2 separate regions of the Homo sapiens genome follow, and region 2 is linked to region 1. Evidence: promoter capture Hi-C in 16 types of primary human blood cells and fetal thymus (Javierre and others, 2016). All regions are on one chromosome and are shown on one strand. The core of a region is centred on a gene start or on the middle of the fragment in contact, and the rest is flanking DNA. Distances in the headings are between cores, read along the strand shown. Region 1 holds the start of SEC23IP (SEC23 interacting protein). Region 2 overlaps ATE1 (arginyltransferase 1).

Region 1 (6,305 bases), core at 3,383-5,882:
TCCTTACTCAAGACTTGAGGGACAACCCCACAACCAGTGGCATACCTAAGTAAGGAAATTGATATAGTAGCAAAAGGCTGGCCTCACTGTTTATGGGTAGTTGTGATGGTGGCCATCTCAGTGTCAGAGGCTATCAAAATAATACAAGGAAAGGATCTCATTGTCTGGACTACTCATGATGTAAATGGCATACTAGGTGCCAAAGGAAGTTTATGGCTATTAGACAACTGCCTGCTCAGATACCAGGCACTACTTCTTGAGGGACCGGTGCTTCAAATACGCATATGTGTGGCCCTCAATCCCGCCACTTTTCTCCCAGAGGATGGAGAACCAATCAAGCATGACTGCCAACAAATTATAGTCCAGAGTTATGCTACCCAAGAGGATCGCTTAGAAGTCCCCTTAGCTAATCCTGACCTTAACCTATATACTGATGGAAGTTCATTTGTGGAGAATGGGATACGAAGAGCAGGTTATGCCATAGTTAGTGATGTAACAATACTTGAAAGTAAGCCTCTTCCCCCAGGGACCAGCACCAAGTTAGCAGAACTACTGGCACTTACCTGAGCCTTAGAAAGGGAAAAAGAATAAATGTGTATACAGATAGCAATTATGCTTATCTAATCCTACATGCCCATGCTGCAATATGGAAAGAAAGGGAGTTCCTAACCTCCGGGGGAACCCCCACTAAATACCACAAGGAAATCATGGAGTTGTTGCATGCAGTGCAAAAACCCAAGGAGGTGGCAGTCTTACACTGCTGAAGCCATCAAAAAGGGGAAGGAGAGGGGAGAACAGCAGCATAGCAGCATATGCGGCTGGCAGAAGCAGGGAAAGACCAGCAGAGAGAAGGAAAGAAAGAGAGAAAGACAGAAAGTCGAAGAGAGAGAGAGAAAGAGACAGAGACAAAAAAGGAGTCAAAGAGAGAAAGAGACAGAAAGTCAAAGAGAAAGAAAGAGAGAAAGGGAGAGAAGTAGTAAAGAAAAAACAGTGTACCCTATTCCTTTAAAAGCCAGAGTAAATTTAAAACCTATAATTGATAATTGAAGGTCTTCTCCATGACCCTGTAACACTCCAACACCACCTGGTTGTCAGTGTAAACAAGGGCATAGCCCGAAAGCACTGAGGCCACTGACAACCCATAGCCTTCCTATCAAAAATCCTTAACCCAGCAGGTTTCCTAACAGGGGATCTAAATCTTAATTACCATACAAAGGTCCAACCAGATCTAGGAGGAACTCCCTTCAGGACAGGACTATAGCTGGTTCCTCCCCAGCGATTAAGGGAGAAAGACACAATGAGTATTCAGTAAGTGATAAGGAAACTCTTGTAGAAGCAGAGTTAGGAAAATTGCCTAATAATTGGTCTGTTCAAACGTGCTCCAGCTATCAGTACTCAGCCAAACCTTAAAGTACTCACAGAATCAGGAAGAAGCCATCTATACCAATTGTAAGTTAATATGGATTGAACAAGGTCTTATTAATACAAAGAATAATTGAAATCCCAAACTTACAAGGTTTTCAACAAAAGTAAAGTTTGCTAAAAGTTAACAGTGTAACATATATTATCCTACTACCACACACTCTCAAAGGATTTCTCAGACAGTTTGCAAGAAATAACAAAATCTATCCTTATTCTACAATTCCAAATAGACTCTTTGGCAGCAGTGACCCTCCAAAACCACCGAGGCCTAGACCTCCTCACTGCTGAGAAAGGAGGACTTTGCACCTTCTTAGGGGAAGAGTGTTGCTTTTACACTAACCAGTCAGGGATAGGATGAGGTGCCGCCTGGTGTTTACAGGAAAAGGCTTCTGAAATCAGACAACGCCTTTCAAACTCTTATATCAACCTCTGGAGTTGGGCGATATGGCATTTCCCCTTTCTAGGTCCTGTGATGGCCATCTTGCTATTATTCACCTTCGGGCCCTGTATTTTTAACCTCCTTGTCAAATTTGTTTCCTCTAGGATTGAGGCCATCAAGCTACAGATGGTCTTACAAATGGAACCCCAATGAGCTCAACTAACAACTTCTACTGAGGACCCCTGCACCAACCCGCTGGCCCTTTGACTGGCATAAAGAGTTCCCCTCTGGAGGACACTACAACTGCAGGGCTCCTTCTTCAACCCATCCAGCAGGAAGTAGCTACAGAGGTCATTGCCCAATTCCCAACAGCTCTTGGGGTGTCCTCTTTAGAGGGGGGATTGAGAGGTGAAGCCAGCTAGACTTCCTGGGTTGAGTAGGGACTTGGAGAACTTTTCTGTCTAGCTAGAGGATTGTAAATGCACCAATCAGTGCTCTGTGTCTAGCTGAAGGACTGTAAATGCACCAATCAGCACTCTGTAAAAACACACCAATCAGTGCTCTGTGTCTAGCTAGAAGATTGTAAATGCACCAATCAGCACTCTGTAAAAATGCACCAATCAACACTCTGTGTCTAGCTAAAGGATTGTAAATGCACCAATCAGCATTCTTTACAATGGACCAATCAGCGCTCTGTAAAATGGACCAAGCAGCAGGATGAGGGCAGTGACAAATAAATAAATAAAAGCTGGCCACCCGAGCCAGCAGCAGCAACCCAGTCAGGTCCCCTTCCACGCTACGGAAGCTTTGTTCTTTCGCTCTTCACAATAAATCTTGCTGCTGCTCACTCTGGGTCTGTGCCACCTTGAAGAGCTGTAACACTCACCACAAAGGTCCGCGGCTTCATTCTTGAAGTCAGTGAGGCCAAGAACCCACCGGAAGGAACCAACTCCGGACACATGACCACTGAGAACTGTCTTCTCAAGGACCTGGGGGTTTGTCTCTTGAATTGCAAGCCTTCAAGGAGGTGGTTCTCATTCTCATTCCCAGTCCCTGTGGCTACCTTGCTCTCTTACACCACTGCTTGTCATGAAGACAGAAAAATTATGTCTCCTCTGGATAAGCATGGATTAACACACCCAGATGGCCTAGTTGCAGGACGAACCAACCCTTCACACTCCTCAGCACCTTTCCCTTAGCACACCACAGCCTCTAAAAAGCCTCCAAATTTTTGTTTCAGCAAAGTTGTGTTCAGTTCATGCTGGACCCAATTCCCTAGCAATAGTTTTCATTAAATAAAATCTAATTTACTGCTTTAACGAGTGTCCCACTTAAAAAATTTTTCTTGACAGTAAGCACATGAAATCGTTATTGAATTAATAAACTTAGGTTCTATATATGTGTAAACAGCTGAGCAGAGTTTCATTATTTTGAGCGTTCTTTTGGTATCTCCTCTCCCAACCTCCAAGAAGCTGAAATATGGCTTAAGTTATATTTTCCTTCAAAATCTCTAACTATGAAAGATGACAATTATGTCCAAGTTATCCACAGTACCTCCTGGATTGAAGTAAGTCAGCTTACTGTGGATATAGAAAGCTATCTAAAATGTCAGATCTCTAATTTCAATGCCCTGGTTTCTTTTTTTTTCTTTTTTTTTTTTTTAAGGAGACAGGGTCTCGCTGCACAGTGAGTGGCAAGATCAGGGTTAATTTGGCCTCAAGCAATATTCCCGCCTCAGCCTCCTGAGTAGCTGGCAATATAGGTGCTATGCCACCAAGCCCGGCTAATTTTTGTATTTTTAGTAGAGACGGGGTTTCACCATGTTGGCCAGGTTGGTCTCAACCTTCTGGGCTCAAGCTATCCTCCCGCTCTGCCTCACAAAGTGCTGGGATTGCAGGCCTGCGCCATGGCGTCTGGTTTGATTTCTCTTTTAAATATTTTTTTTGGCCAGGCGTGGTGGTTCATGCCTATAATCCCAGCAGTTTGGGAGGCCAAGGCGGGCAGATCACGAGGTCAGGAGATTGAGACCATCCTGGCCAACCCGGTGAAACCTCGTCTTTACTAAAAATACAAAAAATTAGCCAGGCGTGGTGGCGGACGCCTGTAGTCCCAGCTACTCGGAGGCTGAGGCAGGAGAATCGCTTGAACCCGGGAGGCGGAGATTGCAATGAGCCCAGACTGCACCGCTGCACTCCAGCCTGGGCGACACAGCAGACTTGTCTCAAAACAAAAAACAAAACCAACCAAAAAAACAAAAAACAAATGCAAAACAAAAAACAACAAAAATAAAACGAAATATTTTTTTCTCCCTATGGATTAAACACTTAAAAAATGTTTTACCACTTCTATTTCTGGGTCAACCACAATGTTCGGTTCCATCCAGAAAGACAAGTGGGTTTTGGAGAGGGTGTTTGGTTCCGCCTAGCATGCGAATTCCCATTCCCGCACAACGCTCTTCCTCCCTTCCTCCTTCCGGTAGCGTCCAGCAGGATTCCGCTGTTCCTCCAAAATCTTTGTCAGGAGAGCCATCCTGACGGTACCTTTAGGAAGCCCATAGATACCCGCCACAACCTGTGACTTTCAGGGTCAATTGCGTCTCAATTCGCACGTCTATCCAGAACCTGCGGGGACCACGTCCCCATCCTCCCGCCCGGCCTCCGCCTCCGAGGGTGTCACGTGCTAGACGCGGGCGTGAAGACAGTGTCGCCATGTTGATATCTGGCGTCGCCGTGTAGGGGAAGGGAGAGGGCGGCTGACTAGCTACCCGTAATTTCGGCTCCTGTGCGCAAGTGCGGAAGTGCGCTGGCCAGGAGCGTGATCGGTTTCCGGTCAGTGGTGTGGTACCGGGTACCCGGAGACGTGTATCGGACGGTGGGCCGCAGCCATGGCCGAGAGAAAACCTAACGGTGGCAGCGGCGGCGCCTCCACTTCCTCATCGGGCACTAACTTACTTTTCTCCTCCTCGGCCACGGAGTTCAGCTTCAATGTGCCCTTCATCCCAGTCACCCAGGCCTCCGCTTCTCCGGCCTCCCTGCTCTTACCGGGAGGTAATAAGGGGAGGGCGGCCCCGTGTGTGGTGGGAGGCGGGCGGGGGACGTGCAATGACAAAGGTCAGACGGGAGTTTTTCCTTCTGCCTCGAGCTACCCTCTGGATAGCTTGCCAGGATCATTACTGGCCAGGTTTGAGTGGGTCGGGGGCTTTGGGATCTTGGAGGTGGCAGGTGATGAGACTTGCTCTTCACGGAAACCCCCTGTTCCGAGTTGTCCAGAGTGCTGGACATTCATTCGTACCCTGGCATTCCGCAAATCTTTGCTGAATACCCGTTGTTGGTACGCCAGGTGCTGGCAGGAAATGCAAATAAATTAAACAGTGGCCCTCTCCTAGGGTACAGTAGTCTGTCTCCCACTAGGAGACTCCTAGGATACGGTAAGATACCTCCTAGGATGGACTGTGCCCCTCTCCTAGGATACGGTACACTGTCTCCTACTAGGAGATTGTTGTGATACAGTACAATATCTTCTAGGTTACAGTAAGATATCTTATAAGATGGACTGTGCCCCTCTTCTAGAAGCCTGTAATATTTGTGAAGTAGACATATACAATGCATTCCTTATCTTTTTTTTTTTTTTTTTTTTTTTGAGACGGAGTCTTGCTCTGTCGCCCAGGCTGGAATGCAGTGGCGCGATCTCGGCTCACTGCAGCCTCCACCTTCCAGGTTCAAGTGATTCTCCTGCCTCAGCCTCCCGAGTAGCTGGGACTACAGGCGTCTGCCACCATGCCTGGCTAATTTTTGTATTTGTAGTAGAGACAGGGTTCCACCATGTTGGCCAGGATGGTCTCAATCTCCTGACCTCAAGTGATCCGCCTGCCCTGGCCTCCCAAAGTGCTGGGATTACAGGTTTAACCCCCCACCCATTCCTCATCTTTCAAGACAATACATCACTTCTTCCAAGAAGCTGTTTCTTGTTCTCTTAGGCCCCCACTCCTATGTGCACTCCTAGCTCTTTTTTCATATTTGTATTATTGTCCAGGGAGATTGCTTTTTGATGATTATGTAGCATTGCCCAGAGCATAGTGTTTAAGAGCACAGACTGTCTGTATTCCAGTCCTTGCCCTGCCAGTAACTTGCTGTGTGACTGTAGGCATTTTACTTTACCTCTCTGTGCTTCAGTTTCTATGTATGTGTAGCCTCACAGAATTGTAATTAGAAATGCTTTAATTTTTGCAAAGCGCTAAGTATAGTGCGTGCCAGACAGTGTGATTTAATGTTTGTGAAATAAACACACCTGCCTCTCCATTTGGACTGCAGTCTTCTTCAGCAGCTATGACCTAATTGCCTTTTTATCTCCAGGATCTTATTTAGGGCCTAGTACATAGATCCTCTTTGGATGCTGAGTTTCCAGTGAATAATTTATTCTTGTTTGAAGGATGAAAGACAGTTTCATGGAGAAGCGAAGACAGGCACACTGGGAACAGCTGTACATGAAGGTTCCCCTGCCCATG
Region 2 (6,141 bases), core at 3,450-5,949, 2.0 Mb after region 1:
TGGACTTCTGGGTCGGGGCGGGGGTGGGGGGGACGTGAAGAACTTTTCTTACAAGAGGATTGTAAAATGCACCAATCAGCTCTCTGTAGCTAGGATTGTAAAACGCCCCAATCGGCGCTCTGTAGCTAGCTAGAGGATTGTAAAACGCACCAATCAGTGCTCTGTGGCTAGAGGTTTGTAAAATGGACCAATCAGCACTCTATAAAATGGACCAATCAGCACTCTATAAAATGGACCAATCAGCACTCTGTAAAATGGACCAATCAGCAGGACATGGGCAGGGACAAATAAGGGAATAAAAGCTGGCCACCCTACCCAGCAGTGGCAACCCACTAGGGTCCCCTTCCACACTGTGGAAGGTTTGTTCTTTCACACTTCACAATAAATCTTGCTGCTGCTCATTCTTTGGGTCTGCGTCACATTTAAGAGCTGTAACACTCACTGCGAAGGTCTGCGGCTTCATTCTTGAAGTGAGCGAGACCAAGAACCCACCAGAAGGAACCAACTCCAGATACACCAGCACTTTGGGGGGCTGAAGCGGGCAGATCACCTGAGGTCAGGAGTTCGAGACCAGCTTGGCCAACATGGTGAAACCCATCTCTACTAAAAATATCAAAAAAATTAGCCAGGTGTGGTGGTGCACGCCTGTAATCCCAGCTAGTCGGGAGGCTGAGGCAGGAGAATCGCTTGAACACGGGAGGCAGAGGTTGCAGTGAGCCGAGATAGCACCACTGCACTCCAGCCTGGGCGACAGCAAGACTCCATCTCAAAAAAAAAGCTCCTAATCAAGTATCAGTGAACCTTTGGGAGTCTGCGATCATTCTAAAATTAACACGCAAAATGTGCTGGGCATGGTGGCTCACGCCTGAAATCCCAGCACTTTGAGGTGGGTAGATCACGAGTTCGAGAGTAGCGCGGCCAACATGGTGAAACCCCGTCTCTACTAAAAACACAAAAATTAACCAGGCCTAGCGGTGGGCATCTGTAGTCCCGGATACTCAGGTGGCTAAGGCAAGAGCACTGCTAGAACCCAGGAGGCGGACACTGCAGTGAGCTGAGATCACACCACTGCACTCCAGCCTGGGTGACACAGCAAGACTCAGTCTCGGTGGGGAGGATATGCAAAATGTTACATATTTTTGTCTACATCCCTTTGGGCAGGAGGCCAGCTCTCATCGACTTCTCAAAATGGTTTGCAACCCAAAAACAAGTTAAGAGCAACCAAGGGAGACAGCTTTGAGGACCAAACAAAAAAACTAATGGACAAAAAACTGTTTAATTTTTTAATTTTTCATTTCTTAAAGTAAAACTGTCTTTTAATTTTATGAGTATATATACACATTGAAATTGGGGGCAAATACATGCTTCAAAATGTTAACGCACTTTTCACATTTTCTATCAAAAAAAAAGGTTCAGGTGCAGTAGTAGCTCACACCTATAATCCCAGCACTTTGGGAGGCTGAGGCAGGAGGCTCCTTTGAGCCTAGAAGTTGGAGATCAGCCTAGGAAACATGGCGAGATCAGCCTAGGAAACATGGTGAGATCTGCCTAGGAAACATGGCAAGACCCCTTTTCTATAAAAAAAAATGTAATTTGCCAGGCCTGGTGGTGTGTACCTACAGTCCCAGCTACTTGGGAGGCTGAGGTGGGAGGATTACTTGAGCCTGGCAGGCAGGCTGCAGTGAGCCATGGTTGTGCTACTGCATTCCAGCCTGAGCAAGACCCTGTCTCAAAAAAAAAAAGAAAAAAGAAGAAAAAGATGATGATGACCTTATAACCAGAATAAGAGAGAAGATTTTTCTATGTTAGGGTGAGGTGAGAAGGTACATGGAAAATCCAAAAGATTATGAAAAAATCCAACGAAGACTTTGTAGGAAAATAGACTTTGGTTTAAGTTTCCCATTTAAGAAAACTGGACTCTGGGCCAGGTGCAGTGGCTCACGCCTGTAATATCAGCACTTTGGGAGGCTGAGGCAGGTGGATCATGAGGTCAGGAGTTCAAGACCAGCCTGGCCAACATAGTGAAACCCCATCTCTACTAAAAATACAAAAAATTAGCCGGGCGTGGTGGCAGGCACCTGTAATCCCAGCTACTCGGGAGGCTGAGGCAGGAGAATCACTTGAACCCAGGAGGCAGAGGTTGCAGTGAGCCGAGATCGCGCCATTGCACTCCAGCCCAGGCGACAGTGCGAGACTCCGTCTCTTTAAAAAAAAAAAAAAAAAACTGGACTCTAAGTGTAAGTGGCAGATTAAATTTAAGCCCTCTTCCTTCCAATTAATTTTTTTTTCAACTTTTATTTTAGATTCAGGGGGTATAGGTACAGGCTGGTGACCTGGATATATTGCATGATGCTGAGGTTTGCAATATGGATGATCCCACCACCCAGGTACTGATCGTCATACCAAGTTGGTTTTTCAACCCTTAGCTCACGCCCTCCCTCCTCCTCTAGTAGTCTCCAGCTTCTACTTTTGCCATCTTTATGTCTGAGTACCCAAGGTTTAGCTCCCACTTATAAGTGAGTGAGGTGGGAAATTAAAGAAAAATAAAATTAAAAAGAAAGATAAATAAGCTTTCCTGTATTAGGCCGACTTGTCCCAGAGGCAGCAACAGGCACGGCCCAGACCCAGGAAAAGCCTTGATAATATTATCTAGTGTGCTCTGGAGATTCTCCCAGCACTCAACATGCAGAGAAGAAAAAATAAATTTTCCTTTGTTTTACGGAATGAGTTCATAGATTCCTGTTCTCTGTAACTAGTGACTTCAAGTATTGTTTTATCTGAGAAGTACAATGAATGTCATGAGAAGCCTGAGTAGGCCTGAACTGCAGCTGCCTGGGCACCATAGTGAAGATTATGGGATAAGCCCAGGCAAACCTAGATAACGGACATCTGGGTTGCTTGGCAACGGTCATGTGCAATCCTGAGTTTGTCCTGCCTCTGTATCCCTGCTTTCACGCCACTGTAAGCTTGCTTCAAGCTAGCCCACCCCCTTCTGTGAACTGTGTATAAAAGTCTTTGTTCCGGGCCCAGTCTTTTAGACGTTGAGTCAGCTGGGCCTAAGTGCACTCAATAAAGTTTCTCCTGTTTTAACCCGAGGTCTCTCTTGTCCTCCTGAATCCCACAACATGAGAACGTGAACCTACCAAGTAATTTATAGGAGCCTGTAGCATTGCTTGAACACAAGCACTGTGTCAAGCAATACACCAGAATGCAGAAAATTCTAAGCTAAGTCCTATAATATTTAATATCCAAAAGTAATGTGAATATTTACCAACATTTTCCCAATATTTCATGGCATTCATTGACAAGATTGCTAAATTAAGAGGGTATTTTTTTCACATATTTATATCTGAACCAATCAAACAATATTACTAAAACCTACTGATCAGCACATAAATACAGCATCAGTATGAAGAAAAGACATAACTCATTTACTTTTCCTTTTAAAGGACATCTACCTAGAGCGGAAATAAACATTAAAAAAGCACAAGAGACTACTAAAATATTATACACAATCTTCATACTATAAATCCTCTTTCTACTAATTAAAATTCTTACCTTATTGTGTACTGAGGACAACATGTTTGATTCATGACAGGTTTGTACACATATTTTCCACTTCTAAAATTATAAAAATAGTTTGTTAATGTCTTATATATTTTTCACTTGCACCAAAACAGCCTAGCACAGGAGCATTAAATTAAGGTTAAAAATCTAATCAACATTGTAGAAATGCATGTAGGTTTAATTACTCTTCATAAGCCAAATAATCTTCAAAGTGCGTGTAGCAAAGTTTAGAACCCTGCCTTTTATTTCCTAAAGCTTTACTTGTGTACCCCACGGCCAATCATCTCAGTTCCCCTCTCACCAGCATCTGCCACCCCTGCTCTGCCTTCACCTGCCACCAATCCCCAATACCACAAGGGCAATGAGAGAAATGCCCACGATGCTGTGGGACTCATGTATGTGATGCCTGTGACAACCACACTTGGGTATTCCACATGCACCAGCACGGAGTACCCCAAAACTAACCCGCTTCTTTCCATGCATTCCAGGTCTATGGTACTAACAGAACTGTTCATTCTGTTCTCAAGTCAGAGACCTGGGAGTCATTTTAAACTCCTCCCTGGAATTCACCTCTATATCCTATTAGCAAGCTTTCCTTCATTTTAAACCCTATCCTAAATTGTCCCCTCTTCTCTATCACCATTGCCACTAAGGTGACAGTCCTCATCATCGCACATCTGGATAGCGCAATAACCTTTGAACTCATCTTCCTGCCTCTATGACCCCCCCTCAAATACCTCTCAGCCATCTGAACAATCTTTTCTAAAACAAATTCCTTCACATTTCTCTCTTACCATAAAATCCTTCCATGACTGCCTTCTAAAAAGTTCTGGCCAGGCATGGTGGTTCATACCTATAATCCCAACACTTTGAAAAGCTAAGCTGGAAGAACACTTGCAACCAGATGTTCGAGACCAGCACGGGCAACATAGCCAAGATCTTACAAAAAACTGAAAAATTAGCCAGGTGTTGTGATGCACACCTGTAGTCCTAGCCACTGCAGAGGCTGAGGCAAGAGGATCACTTGAGTGTGGGAATTTGGGGTTACAGTGAGCTATGATGATGGCACTGTACTCTAGCCTGGGCAAGAGAGCGACTCTAGCCTGGGCAACAGAGCGAGACCATGTCTCTAAAAAAAAAAGTTCCTTATCATGGCATGTGAAGTCCTTTAAAATCTGACCTATGTCTACCTTTTGAATCTCATTAAGTTTAAGGAAAGTTGTGATATTTCAGCTGGTGCTCCCAATCCCACGTCTTTGGCAAGTATTAGCGTACAGTATTTAATATTACTTATATTTACACAAGGAACTTTACCTAAGAGTTACTTAAAAATCATCCACATAAAAATAACTACTCAAAACAGGCCATGTGTGGACTTTAAGGAAATCCTTATCCAAATAAACTGTTAAAGAAGACATTTTTGAGACAATCTGGAAAATCTAATAAAAAGTAGGTAACAGGTAACATCAAAGAATTTTTATTAATTTTGTAAGGTGTGATACAGCATTGTGGATAAGTTAAAAAGAAAAAAAGACCTCTCTCTTAGAGATACATACTTATTGCCTATCTATTGATAGGATAAATGTCATAATAACCTACTGATGTAATTTGCTGTTAAATATTAAAAGGTGGAGCAGGAGAATCAAACATGATTGGCAGAACGTTAATAACTGCTGAAGCTTAGTGATAGGTACTTGAGGTTCATTCTAATGTACTCTCTGCTTTTATAGATATTTGACATTTTCCTAACAAAGTTTTTTAAAAAGGAGACAAAAAATCACTACATAAAAGAATATAATAAAAATTTTTCTTAAACCTCTTTCCAACAGGAAAGCATTTCAAAGGCATGCTGTATTTTTCAAGAACCTGAGTAACAGTAGGAAGTCTCTTTGTATCTGGAAGCTTTACCTTCGCCATCCTCGGTCTATGAGATCCTGATAATCCTGTACTGTCATGGAATGTGCCCACATGCCTGAAAAAATAAGTAGTGTGTTAATTACGGCAGGGTAACCTTTTTTCTTTTTTAAATTCAAAGTGTGAGGTTTAAAAATAGGAGTGTGTGTCCGGGCACGGTGGCTCATGCCTGTAATCCCAGCACTCTGGGAGGCCAAGGCGGGCAAATCACAAGGTCAGGAGTTCAAGACCAGCCTGGCCAACATGGTGAAACCCCATCTCTACTAAAAATACAAAAATTTAGCTGGGCATAGTGGCGGGCGCCTGTAATCCCAGCTACTCAAGAGGCTGCAGCAGGAGAATCACATGAACTCGGGAGGCGGAGGTTGCAGTGAGCCAAGATCACGCCACTGCACTCCAGCCCTGGCGACAGAGTGAGACTCCATCTCAAAAAAAAAAAAAAAAATAGGAGTGTTTAGGTTAAAATTCCAAAACACTCATATTGGATAAATGAAAAGTTTGTACATACTTCACAGCTGTTAGTTGGGCATACACACAGCACAAATAAAGAATGACACTATATATATTTTCATTCAAAAAAACACATCGAAGTTAATTATATTTATTTGAGGATTAGTCAATAGTCTCTATGACAGCATAAATTTAAGTCCTCACTGCAAT

Evidence for each region. Contacts are between HindIII fragments. The CHiCAGO score rates a contact against its expected background, and 5 or more counts as called.
Region 2: a fragment that was not itself captured here is called in contact with the fragment with the promoter of SEC23IP in region 1 in 1 of 17 cell types (M2 macrophages); the score reaches 6.2 in M2 macrophages.

Annotation. Positions count from the first base shown.
Region 1 is chr10:119,888,098-119,894,402 of GRCh38, forward strand. SEC23IP (SEC23 interacting protein) reads left to right here and starts at 4,633. Exons shown (of 19, transcript NM_007190.4): 1 at 4,633-4,848. The coding sequence starts at 4,686. RefSeq lists enhancers at 1,009-1,547, 3,348-3,859, 3,860-4,370, 4,371-4,881. The HindIII fragment of the contact is 6,362 bases long and covers 2,605-6,305 here.
Region 2 is chr10:121,918,791-121,924,931 of GRCh38, forward strand. ATE1 (arginyltransferase 1) reads right to left here. Exons shown (of 12, transcript NM_001001976.3): 2 at 5,476-5,539; 3 at 3,559-3,621. Among named protein-coding and RNA genes, the nearest start is that of ATE1, 6.2 kb to the right of the region's middle. The HindIII fragment of the contact is 1,089 bases long and covers 4,156-5,244 here.